Linked DNA regions of Homo sapiens: region 1 is linked to region 2. The links are contacts of gene promoters, found by promoter capture Hi-C in human tissues and cell types (Jung and others, 2019). All regions are on one chromosome and are shown on one strand. Each heading gives the region's core, a stretch centred on a gene start or on the middle of the fragment in contact. The rest is flanking DNA. Distances are from core to core; before and after follow the strand shown.

Evidence for each region. The method cuts DNA at HindIII sites, captures the fragments that hold promoters and counts their contacts. A contact is called where the count stands out against the background at its distance.
Region 1: a fragment that was not itself captured here is called in contact with the fragment with the promoter of SNRPD1 in region 2 in 3 of the 25 tissues and cell types used here (aorta, heart right ventricle and mesenchymal stem cells).

What each region holds. Positions count from the first base shown.
Region 1 is chr18:21,444,904-21,451,628 of GRCh38, forward strand. GREB1L (GREB1 like retinoic acid receptor coactivator) reads left to right here. Exons shown (of 33, transcript NM_001142966.3): 12 at 4,607-4,933; 13 at 6,120-6,248. GREB1L-AS1 (GREB1L antisense RNA 1) reads right to left here and starts at 6,144. Exons shown (of 4, transcript NR_187982.1): 1 at 5,980-6,144. LOC124900410 (small nucleolar RNA SNORD23) reads right to left here and starts at 5,853; the gene lies at 5,750-5,853. The HindIII fragment of the contact is 3,848 bases long and covers 3,223-6,725 here.
Region 2 is chr18:21,607,263-21,613,673 of GRCh38, forward strand. It overlaps SNRPD1 (small nuclear ribonucleoprotein D1 polypeptide), which reads left to right and starts at 5,052. Exons shown (of 4, transcript NM_006938.4): 1 at 5,052-5,181. The coding sequence starts at 5,168. RefSeq lists a silencer at 4,801-4,850 and an enhancer at 5,111-5,200. The HindIII fragment of the contact is 13,798 bases long and covers 1-6,411 here.

The DNA.
Region 1 (6,725 bases), core at 3,897-6,396, 160 kb before region 2:
GTCCCATCGTGCTTTCCATCATTGAGGTCATAACTGTGGACCTCCCTGGAAGGTCTTTAAGCTATAGGGTAAGGGGGATATGTAGGTCATGAACCCTTCACTTCCTCTATCTGATATATTCTCCGAAGCCCCAAAGTGGGTGTATGCAGGTGCCCTGACAATACTAGAGTGGCTTAGCAGCATTTACATCGAAATGTCCTTTATTTTGCAAATGGCAGTAGGCCATCTAATTATACACTCACTCTATCACTTCAAGCCACTGATTTACTTAGAAAAATATTTGAGATGTGGCCGGGCACGGTGGCTCACGCCCGTGATCCCAACACTTTGGGAGGCCAAGGTGGGCGGATCACCTGAGGTGGGGAGTTCGAGACCAGCCTGACCAACATGGAGAAACCCCATCTCTACTAAAAATACAAAATTAGCTGGGCGTGGTGGCGCATGCCTGTAATCCCAGCTACTCAGGAGGCTGAGGCAAAAGAATTGCTTGAACCCGGGAGGCGGAGGTTGCAGTGAGCCCAGATCACGTCATTGCACTCCAGCTTGGGCAACAAGAGTGAAACTCCATCTCAAAAAAAAAGAAAAGAAAAGAAAAGAAAAAAATATTTGAGATGTAAAATTACACATAAAAATATTAGTATGCACTCTTGTGAAATTTTTTAATTTTAGAAAATACTTCAGTGTTAGGAGATAATAAAAACACTGGACTAAATAACTTTAAAAGAAAGAAAAAAGCTTTATTAGGGCATATTCAGTGTTTGGTGCATTAGCTAGCAATCTTGACTAGAACTCTGTGCCCTGAGAGGCTGCCTTGACTTGGCCTCTGCTTCGACATGGCCTTTTGAAATTTACAAGGCACCAATTTCATGATAAACCTAGGACTTACTAATGATGCTTATTGAAAGGTAATACAATTATAAAGCTCATCTGGGTCCACAGCTCATTTGATGACATAATTTTAATTGCTACATACTGAAATTAGATTATAGACTGTGTTCTAAGATCTAAAGCCAACTTCTAAATGCACCCAGAATTAGTAAAACCAGGCTTCATAAAGTGATGATATAGCCAACCAAGAAAATCACTATAGCACTCTTTTTCAGTTTGTTTGTTTGTTTGATTATTTGTTTGTTTGTTTTGAGACCGAGTCTCACTCTGTTTCCCAGGCTGGAGTGCAGTGGTGCGATCTCGACTCACTGCAACCACCACCTCCCATGTTCAAGCAATTCTCATGTCTCAGCCTCCCGAGTAGCTGGGACTACAGGCGTGAACCACCACACCCTGCTAATTTTTGTATTTTTAGTAGAGACAGGGTTTCACCATGTTGGCCAGGCTGGTCTCAAACTCCTGATCTCAGGTGATCCACCTGCCTTGGGCTCCCAAAGTTGGGATTACAGGCATGAGTCACCACGCCCGGCCTCCTTTTCAATCTTAATAGCAATTTTTAAAATCGGAGTCTAATTTAATTAAATGAACCAAGTGGTCAAAATAAGATATCTTTTCTTAAAGTACTAAATGCTCTTATCTTTTGTAAAGAAAAAGAAAAGAAAAGAAAAAAAGAAACAATTTCAATTTAATTACACAGATTCTTCTCTGACCTGCAGGATCAGTTCTTTCCTGAATTTGACTTGCAGTCAATCAGTTAGGCCTCTCGATATACATGAATAGCTATTTCTCTTTTAAAACCTAAGCTTTGTACATTGAGACATCTCTATCCCTCAACAACTGTTCTGGAGTCCTTTATTTATTTATTATTTATTTATTTCTTTATTTCTTGCCTCTGGAGGTTTCAAGAAGGCAAGCAAGAATAGTTTCACATATGGCATAGATTATAGACATTTAAAAAAATAAATCTAAACTTCTAAAAGGATTTTTAATACTTCAGCGGCTCAGTTACTTAGAGGTATCAGAGAAGAAGAAAAGCAAGATTCTTCAGAAGGAACCATACCTCTTCACTACAGTCACTTTTAAAAAATCTCAGTCATTTCACAGTCAGAAAATCTTTGAAGTAGATAATGAAATCAGCAAATCCAGAGATTCTTGTAAGGCTCTGAGTCTATTTAAACCTTGACTTTTCCTATTAAGGTAGTTCTTTCTGAAAAGTCATTAAAACTGATACCTCAGCTAACCTAAGTTATTGGAGATCAGCACTTGAAGGAAAAGATTATTGTTATCAAGCTTGCGAAAGTGGAGAAAAGACACCTGCAATGTAATTGTAAAGGCTGAGGATGAGGTACTGGGTGTGGTGGCTCACGCTTGTAATCTCAGCACCTTGGGAGGCTGAGGCAGAAGGATCACTTGAGCCCAGAAGTTCAGAACTGCAGTGAGCTATGATTGTGCCACTGTACTCCAGCCTGGCAGACAGACAGAGACCCTGTCTCTAATTAAAAAAATTTAAAAAAAAAATTTTTTTAAAAGGCTGAGGATGAAAAAGTGATAGTTGATTTTTGGAAACAAGGCATTTTACTCTAAGAAGTCTCTTACCTCATTTAAACTTAATACCTTTTCCTCCACTTCTTGATTCCTAATTGTACATCAGTCAAAACTGTATAAAAGCGAGCTTTAAGGCAACAAAGGATGTTGTGAACATGTTTAGTAATTTTATTTTCCCAGAATGCCTTTGTGCTTTCAATTAATTATGCCTCCTGATAGAATATGTTACTTAGTCCTGGAGTGAGTCTTATGGACTACTAACCAGGCCCCTGAGCTTTCAGGTTGTTAATGAAAGACGGTAGGGAATTGGAGACAGCCAGGGCCACCTGCTTTTCAGCTGTCATGTTCTGGTGGAAGAAAGCGTTAAATAAATGACCACCTTCTATCCACTTTGAGCTCACTGAAAAGTGTTTACCTAGTGACAATTAACCATGATGCCAATTTGATAAAGCTGAATGAAGATCAGACATCTTGGTGGCTCCTAGGTGATTTTTTTTTAAAGAGCATCCCTCCACATTCCCAGCAAGTTTTTTGAGGACAGTAGAGGCCAGGCACGGTGGCTCACACCTGTAATCCCAACACTTTGGGAGGCTGAATAGGGTGGATACTTGAGGTCAGGAGTTTGAGAGCAGTCTGGCCAACATGGTGAAACCCCATCTCTATCAAAAATACAAAAATTAGCCAGGCATGTTGGGCATGCCTGTAATCCCAGATACTCCGGAGGCTGAGACAGGAGAATTGCTTGAGGCCAGGAGGTGGAGGTTGCAGTGAGCCGAGATCGCGCCACTGCACTCCAGCCTGGATGACAAAGGGAAACTGTCTCAAAAAAAAAAAAAAGCAGCAGCAGCAGCATAGAAGAAACACAGACATAATGTATACATTACCATTTTCTTGCCCTGTTTCCATGTATAGAGGAGAAAAATCTGTTTATGAGAATTCTACTCTCCTACCTCTCCCTGGCCTCCACCCAATCCTGGAAAAACTGTTTTCTCCAATTAAAATTGTTGTTTTTATAATGTATAAGATTTTATTTAATTTTCCATATCTGAAGAGCATTACTAAACACCTCATTTTCTTACTTTCCCAGAAAAGATGGGAAGGGCCAGAGAAACCACTTAGATCCCTATTAGAGGAAGGAATGGGTCTGACTCATTTGTGGTGCCTCCTTCTCATGCAGAAGTCCAGCCCATCACCCCTTTGTTCTTCCATAAGGGGCTTTTAGCCATGGGTTCTGGGGCTGTTGCTTGGTCTCAGATCACAGACACTGAGGTGTCTGAGCTGGTTTATGGGAGCCTGAGTTTCAAATATTGGGTTCACACAGCAAAAGAAATGATTGAATAGAGGGAGTGACTGTATTCTCACTGCTTTCAATTTAAACTAAATGTTGAAATCTTAGTTCATTTGTGTCATTTGGATACCAAACATTGACTTGCTTATTTTGTTCTAAAGGCTGGTTGAGTTTCTAAAGAGAATAAGGAAGAAAATCCCCCTGATTCCAGGGGCCACAGGTCAGCAGTATAAGTTTTGCTCCAACTGGTTGGAGAAGAGGGCCAAATGGCATATTTAACAATCCAGAATGCTGGGGAATAACTAGATCATGAAAGCGTTCTCTATCTGGGAAAAATGTGAGGCTGCCTCCAATATCACTTGGGAGTGAAAAATAATTAAACTTCATTTCCTGCACAGTATTCTCAAAATTAGGCTTAGAAGCAACACATTAAAATGTTTTCCAAAATGCCTATGACTAAAATGAGAACTGAAACTTAAAATCGGTTATATACCAGTAGGTTGGCTTCTTTTTTCATTAGTCATTAACAATTTCTATAATGCCAAGCTTAATAGGTCAAGAAATATGCCATGTGCAAGGACCAGCTCCGAGGGCATACAGTGGAATTAATGGTTTCTCTTGGTACCTCCTCTTTTAAAGAGATCAGGAATACAGAAAAACAGAAGCCTGATTTTTTTTACAAAGATTGAGGCAGAAAGAAAAATAATTTCCAACAGGGAATGATTAGTAGGGACTCTATACTTGTGACCACTCCAAGAAAAAGAGGTTATTTTCTAGTTGGAGTATGTATGATGGGCTGAGAAGGACTGCAGGAAAGCATATGGGTGTGTGTGTCTCTCCTCCCTGTGATTCTTTAAATTCCAGCTGTAATTCTCTTCTATATAGGTCCTGATCAGGTACCTCTCAGGGAAGAATTTGAGCAAATTATGCTGAAAGCTATGCAAGAATTTACTCTGAGAGAAAGAGCCCTGCAGATAGGTGCTCAGTGTGTCCCTGTGTCACCAGGACAACTCCCCTGGCTTGCTAGATTAATTGCCAGCGTATCTCAAGACTTGGTTCATGTGGTTGTGACCCAGAACTCTTTGGCGGAGGGCATTTCAGAGACCTTAAGGACTCTCAGTGAAATGAGACACTATCAAAGGCTGCCAGATTATGTGGTGGTAATTTGTGCATCGAAAATCAGAGGAAATGAATTTTGTGTGGTAGTGTTAGGTGAGTAATTTTTTTGTTTTTTGTTTGTTTAATCAATTCATTCGACCATTTTTCCATTTAAAAATGTGTGTTATGTGTTTCAGGCATCCACATAATCAACCTCTGATTAATTGCTGGAGCTTGGGCTCATCCTCCTAATTTTAACTTTCCCTTTCCTTCTCAGATCAGGTTTTGTGTAGCCCTCAGTTTGGCTGGTGCCCCTGTCAGCTGGTTGTGGGAGCATTATTTCAAAGCTCTCCCTAGTAACAGATACCCCTGTCTCATGTAACTGCTGTCCTTTAAAGATTTTGGAAATGTTACTACTCTAGCATGTGATAAAGCCAGTGCCACAGGTGGCCTAAGCCAGTTAATCGAATTTGCCAGAAAATTAGCTCATATATTCCCCTTCTCACTGAACAGTCTATTTAATATTGTAACATAGTCTCTAAAGAAAAGATTCAGAAAGTTGGTACACTACAAAATTGGGGGGTGGGAGGGGATTTTTGTTTGTTTGTTTTGCACTGTGCAGATTTTCTATCAGGCACCCTCTTGGGTAGCCATTTGGACTACATTTTGCTTCTCTCTTCTCTGTACTGAATGGCTCTCACCTCTTCCAGCAAAGAAGCTAAGAAAACCCCCTCACTTTGACAAAACCTGTCTGCCCATTTTTCTGTGCTACATGTATTTCCAGAAAGCTTCATCAGTGTGATACATTAATATTTTTTCATTTTTATTTGTAAAAAACATGTTTATATTTTTAAAGCAAATTCATTATAACCATGCAAGCACAATTTTTATAAGGTTTTTCATACTCTTCCCTAGTCTGTTTTTCCCCCATGTTCTCAGCCCCTGGGCATCTGCCCAATTGGCCAGCCCTGGGGCAGCCATGGTGTTGCTCACAGCCCCTGGCGGGGACAGGGACCTTCCTTAGTCATTAAACACAAACGTGCATATTTTCAGTTACATAAGGTACATCATTTTGTTCCCCTGATCATCTGTATTATAAACATTTCTGTTTCTGTCTAGAGTCAGAATTGATATTTCAAATGCTATATAATTGTCCATACCTTTTGATGTGTCATAATTTTCTTAACCCAAGTCCCTATAGTGACATCCTTTGATTGTTTCCAATTGTTGCCATTATAAGTAATGTTCCAGCAACATTTGTTCTGTTGATGAGTCTTCTCTTCTCTCCTCCATCCTGCAGGTCAGCACCAGTCCCGAGCTCTGGCAGAGAGCATGCTCACCACAAGTGAGTTTTTGAAAGAAATTAGTTATGAGCTTATCACAGGAAAGGTCAGTTTCCTGGCATCACATTTCAAAACCACATCATTAGGTGAGTGGTTGTAAGATTTGGCAACACTGGCAGCCCCTAGTTGTATGATTTTCTGAGTTTAAATCTTAGCCTGTCAAGATGAGTGTGGAGCTCAAGCTTGCCAGCTGATCTTTCATTTGAAATGGTTTATCCTAAGTATTTTGTCACTAACACCACAGGAAGCAGTAAGGGGGTCTAGAGGAAGGCCCATTGGTACTGGATTCAAAAGTCTCAGCTCAGCCACAACCTTGTTGAGTGACCTTGGGCGAGTTTCTCTCTCCCTGGAACTCGGTTTGTTCGTTCGTTCCTTCCTTCCTCCTTCCCTCCCTTCCTTCTTTCCTTCCTTCCTTTTTTTTTTTTTTTTTTTTTTTTTTTTTTACAGTGTTGCACTCTATCGCCCAGGCTGGAGTGCAGTAGCGTGATTATAGCTCACTGCTTGACACCACCCCTCTTCACGGGCTCAAGCGATCCTCCCACTTCAGCCTCCCAAGCAGCTTG
Region 2 (6,411 bases), core at 3,802-6,301:
GATCTGCCCGCCTCGGCCTCCCAAAGTGCTGGGATTACAGGCATGAGCCACCGCGCCCGGCCTATTATTTTTTTTTTTTTGAGACAGAGTCTCACCTTGTTGCCCAGGCTGGAGTGCAGTAGCACGATCTTGGCTCACTGCAACCTCTGCCTCCCAGGTTCAAGCCATTCTCCTGCCTCAGCCTCCTGAATAGCTGGAATTACAGACGCCCGCCACCACACTCGGCTAATTTTTGTATTTTTAGTAGAGACAGGGTTTCACCATGTTGGCCAGGCCTGTCTCGAACTCCTGACCTCAGGTGATCCGCCCACCTGGGCCTCCCTAAATGCTGGGATTACAGGTGTGAGCCACTACGCCCAGCCGAGGCATTTAGTTATTTCACAAATATTTATTGAGGACATATCAACAAAGCATTATTTTAGATGCTGGAGGTGCTGCAGTCAACAGAAAAGACATAATTCCCTGCTTTCAGTTTGCAATCTTGTATCTGACAATAAATAAGTAAATAATTAAATGCTAAGAAGGAAACAAATATGGTCCTCAAAAAACACTGTGCAATCACACTTTCTATGATGATGGAAATATTCATATATCTGCATTGTTCAAAAGGGTAGCCATAGACACATATGAGTATTTGAAATGTAGTTACTAGGCCAGGCATGGTGGCTCACGCCTGTAATCCCAGCACTTGAGGAGGCCGAGGAGGGTGGATCACAAGGTCAGGAGTTCAAGGCCAGCCTGGCCAAGGTGGTGAAACCCTGTCTCTACTAAAAATACAAAAATTAGCCGGATGAGGTGGCGGGCCCCTGTAATCCCAGCTACTTGGGAGACTGAGGCAGAGAATTGCTGGAACCCAGGAGGTGGAGGTTGCAGTGAGCTGAGATGGAGCCACCGCACTCCAGCCTGGGTGATGGAGCAAGACTCCATCTCGAAAAAAAAAAAAAGAAATGCAGTTACCAAAATTGAGGAGCTGAATTTTTTTTTTTTTTTTTTTTGAGATGGACCCTTGCTCATCGCCCAGGCTGGAGTGCAGAGGCGTGATCTCGGCTCCCTGCAAACTCCACCTCCCAAGTTTCAGCAATTCTTCTGCCTCAGCTTCCCGAATAGCTGAGACTACAGGCATGCACCACCATGCCCGGCTAATTTTTTTGTATTTTTAGTAGAGATGGGGTTTCACCATGGTGGCCAGGATTGTCTTGATCTCTTGACCTCATTCATGATCCACCTGCCTCGGCCTCCCAAAGTGCTGGGATTACAGGCATGAGCCACTACACCTGGCCTGAGGAGCTGAATTTTTAAATTTTATTTAATTTTTTTCATTTTTGAGATAGGGTCTTCCTGTGCTGCCCTGGCTGGCCTCAAACTCCTGGGCTCCAGTGATTCTCCTGCCTCAGCCTTCCAAGTAGCTGAGACTATAGGCATGCACTGCAGGGCTGGCTATTTAATTCTAAATAGCAACATTCAGGCAGTATTCATTATCTAGGGGCTCATTGATGTCATCACAGGTTTTAGTTTTTTATAAACTCTGTCCTTGGCTGGGCACAGTGGCTCCCTGTAATCCCAGCACTTTGGGAGGCTGAGGTGGGAGGATCAATTTATTCCCAGGAGCCTAAGGCTACAGTGAGCTAGGATCACACCACTGCACCCCAGCCTGGGCAACAGAGCAAGATCCTGTCTAAATGAACAAACAAACAAAGAAACAAACAACACTATGTCCTGAAATTGGTTCTTCTCCTGGTTGTAAGGAAGTTCCCAACAGCTCCAGGGGTTACTCCCTTTCCATTCACAACAAAAGAAAAGAACATTCCCTCTAAAGGTCCAATTGGATCAACTTAGATCCCAAACCTACTGTGAACAAGTAATGGAATGGAGTATTAAAAGGGTAGAGTCAGCTTTCTTAGGACCACAAGGATCACAAGAAGAATATTAGAAACATTTGGAAAGACAAGGGAATAGATGTTGAGAAGGCAACACACAAATATCCGTTTTAGCCTTGCTACTCAAATTGATGTGTATAGAGTAGGGGCAGCTTCATCAACTGAAGGCTTGTTAGAACTGCAGAATTTCAGGCCCCACAACGATTGAATCAGATTTTCATTTTAAAGTTTCCAGGCTGGGCGTGGTGGCTCAAGCCTGAAATCCCAGCACTTTGGGAGGCCAAGGTGGATGGATCATCTGAGGTCAGGAGTTCGAGACCAGCCGAGCTAACATGGTGAAACCCCATTTCTACTAAAAATACAAAAAATTAGCTGGGCGCAGTAGTGAGTGCCTGTAATCCCATCTACTCAGGAGACTTAGGCAGGAGAATCATTTGAACCCAGGAGGCAGAGGTTGCAGTGAGCTGAGATCGTGCCATTGCACTCCGGCTTGGGCAACAAGAGTGAAACTCCATCTCAAAAATAAATAAATAAATAAATAAATAAATATAAAGTTTTGGCCAGGCGTGGCAAGTCAGTCTCAAACAACAAAAAAAGGGCAATATTTATCAAAGTTTAATGTGTGTAGGACTCACCTGGGGAAACTTTATTTTTTTTAATTTTTATTATTATTATTATTTTTTGAGACGGAGTCTTGCTCTGTCGCCCAGGCTGGAGCGCAGTGGCACAATCTCCACTCACTGCAACCTCCGCCTCCCGGGTTCAAGCAATTCTTCTGCCTCAGCCTCCCGAGTAGCTGGGACTCAGCCTCCCAAGTAGCTGGGACTACAGGCATGCGCCACCACGCCCAGCTAATTTTTGTATTTTTAGTGGAGACGAGGTTTCACCATGTTGGCCAGGATGGTCTCGATCTCTTGACCTCATGATCTGCCCATCTCGGCCTCCCAAAGTGCTGAGATTACAGGCATGAGCCACCATGCCCAGCCGATAAGTATTGTCTTACAATATCTAAGAGTTCTGTTGATCAGCGATGAAGTCTAGGCTAGAGATACAAATCAAAGTCATGGTTTTGGAGGAGATTACCAGGTTAAAAGAAAAAGTATACATAAAAAGACTACAGCCACAAGCCGGGAAACACTGTGACATGTATTGGCTCCATAGGGAAGGAGGAACCAGCTAAGGAGATTTAGAAAGAGTAGTTAGAGGCTGGGCATGGAGGCTCTGGGCCTGTAAACCCAGTACTTTGGGAGGCCACGGCAGTGGAATCTCTTGAGCCCAGGAGTTGGATACTAGCCTGGGCAACATAGTAAGACCTCTTCTCTACGAAATAAAAAATAAAATATTAGCTGGGCATGGTGGCACGCACTTGTGGTCCCAGCTACTGAGAAGGCTGAGGCAGGAGGATAGCTTGAGCCCAGACGGTCAAGGCTGCAGTGAGCCCTGATTGTGCCATTGCACTCCTGCCTGGGCAACAGAGCGAGAAACCCTGTCTATAAACAAAACAAAACAAAGCAAGAGTAGTTAGTAGGATAAGGAAAAAGGCCAGGTGAGCTTGGCATCCTGAAACCCGAAAGAGGGAAGGGGAGTGTTTGTGTTAAATTTTGATGAAGCTCACATACTAAAGAGACAATAATGCCGGGCGCGGTGGCTCACGCCTATAATCCCAGCACTTTGGGAGGCCGAGGCGGGCGGATCACGAGGTCAGGAGATCGAAACCATCCTGGCTAACCCCGTCTCTACTAAAAATACAAAAAAATTAGCCGGGCGTGGTGGCTGGCGCCTGTAGTCCCAGCTACTTGGGAGGCCGAGGCAGGAGAATAGCGTGAACCCGGAAGGCGGAGCTTGCAGTGAGCCGAGATCGCGCCACTGCACTACAGCCTGGGCGACAGAGGGAGACTCTGTCTCAAAATACATACATACGTACGTACATACATACATACATAAAAAGACGATAATTAGCGGGCCATGGTGATGCGCGCCTGTAATCTCAGTTACTGGAGAGGCTGAGGCACGAGAATGGCTTGAAACCGGGAGGCAAGGGTTGCAGTGAGCTGAGATCGCGCTACTGCACTCCGGCCTGGGCGACAGAGTGAGACTCCATCTCAAAAAAATAAAAAATATATATATTTTGATGAGATGTTGAGAAAGATGAAGACTGAAAAGTTTGTCTTATAGATTGGAACTTAAAGTGAAAATAATCTGCTACATTGTGGATTTTATTTTTATTATTATTATTTTTTGAGACGGAGTCTCGCTCTGTTGCCAGGCTGGAGTGCAGTGGCACGATCTCAGCTCACTGCAACCTCCACCTCCTGGGTTCAAGCGATTCTCCTGCCTCAGCCTCCCGAATAGCTGGGACTACAGGCGCGCATCACCACGCCCCGCTAATTTTTGTATTTTTAGTAGAGGCGGGGTTTCACCATGTTGGCCAGAATGGTCTCGATCTCTTGACCTCGCTATCTGCCCGCCTCGGCCTCCCAAAGTGCTGGAATTACAGGCTTGAGCCACAGCGCCTGGCCCATTGTGTGATTTGCTTCAGGTACAGTAAGCAATGCTAGGTTCCTGGTGTTGGAACAGAATCAGCATAAGACTTTGGGCTTCTCTAAGACCTTCTTTCCGTTCAGTGAGGAATTTGTATTAGGTGCTGCACTCACAGTGCCCTGCTGTTCAGAAACGTGATGGTGACAGTACTTTTTTTTTTTTTTTTTTTTTTTGGGAGACGGAGTTTCGTTCTTGTTGCCCAGGCAGGAGTGTAGTGGTGCGATCTCCGCTCACTGCAGCCTCCGCCTCCCGGGTTCAAGCGATTCCCCTGCCTCAGCCTTCCGAGTAGCTGGGATTACATGCGCCCGCCACCACGCCCAGCTAATTTTTTGTCTTTTTAGTAGAGACGGGGGTTTCACCCTGTTGGCCAGGCTGGTCTTGAACTCCTGACCTCAGGTGATACCCCCGCTTCGGCCTCCCAAAATGCGACAGTCCTATTAATTGGATTTAATCTCTTCGAATCTCCCTCTCTTGTAGGACATTTTTCTCCAAGACCAGCCCTCGATACCCTCAGCCGTCGCAAGGCAACCTCCAGCCGCCAGGGGCCGCAGTCGCGCTCCTCGCGGCCGGAAGAGAGTGCGGCCCAGCGCAGCCTCGGCGTTTCCGCCATGCGCCTGCAGTGCTCCGCGCGCTCTTGACGTCCGGAGCCCCTGGAGTAGGCGCTTCCGGCCATTCATACTGCAGTCGGTCAGTGTTCGGTTGAAGGATTCTGTGTGCTGTCGGACCCAGAGGGTGACGGCGCCGCTAGGATGAAGCTCGTGAGGTGAGGGAGTGACCAAGCAGCTCTGGGGGCTGTGAAGGGAGGGCTTGGCCCGGAGTCCGGAAGGCTGGGCTCTCCCATTTGCAGGAGGCGGGAAAGCCGCGTGTGCGCGGCCTGCTAACGGCCGGCCTTACTGCGCCCGCAGCTCGTGCTCGGGCCTGGGCTTCCGCCTGGGTCGCTCGCGGATCCCGCGTGTCTTCCAAGAGATTGGTATAAAGGCCGAGCCTTTTCTTCCTGCCTAGTGACTTAGAGGCTTTAAAGATGCAGCGCCTCCTGGGACACATCTCCCTCTTACAGTTACTCATTTTCTTTTTGAGTGGAACTCCCCAGTCCTGCTTAACAGTACTTAGAAAGCTGTATGAGCTTATCTGGAAACAAACCTGTTTGCAAAATATTTTAAATCAGAGAAGGACTTCCGGCTTCACAAGTTTTTGTTTTTTTAAATAAAGATGGTGTCTCACTTTGTTGACCAGGCTGGTCTCGAACTCCTGGGCTCAAGCTTTCTGCCCGCCTCGCCCTTCCAAAGGGCTGAGATTACAGGTTTGAGCCACCGTGCCCGGCCGATTTTTAAGTTTACCTTTTTATCCTCCTTAGATTTGTGATTGATTATTCCACCTCTATTTCCCTTTAAGGTAGGCTTTTTATTTAGGAAAATCTCCCAATATAGGGCAGAAATTATCACAACGTAATTGTGGCTGATTACTCAGATAATATATAGTTCTCCTGTTTTATTTCTTAAGAAATAAATAGACCCTGTCAGTTAGGTGAGTCTTCTGAAAACTTGTTTGCTGATGTGAATAATTCTAAACTACCTGCAAGTAGATTTGGTTTTGGTGTTTTTCCTTGAGACTAAGCCTGGAACAGAGGCAGACGTTTCTAATAGCTAAGCCAGCAATTATAAATATTTAGCTTGTTTTTTTCCTGTTGAGTCAAGGATTGTCAATATCCGCTAAATAGTTATTGGGCACCTGTTACATACTAGGCGCTGGTAATAGGATTTTTTAAAAGGCAGAGTACCTGCCTTGTTGGAGTTTTCTGGTTAGTGGGGATGACAGACAAGTAGATAACGTCTGAAGTAACGTTTGTTTGAAACGTTTTAAATAACACATAAAAGCCTTCAACACTCAGGGAGGAGGCCAGGCGCAGTGGCTCACGTCTGTAATCCCAGCACTTTGGGAGGCCAAGGCGGGTGGATCACTAGGTCAGGAGTTCGAGACCAGCCTGACCAACATG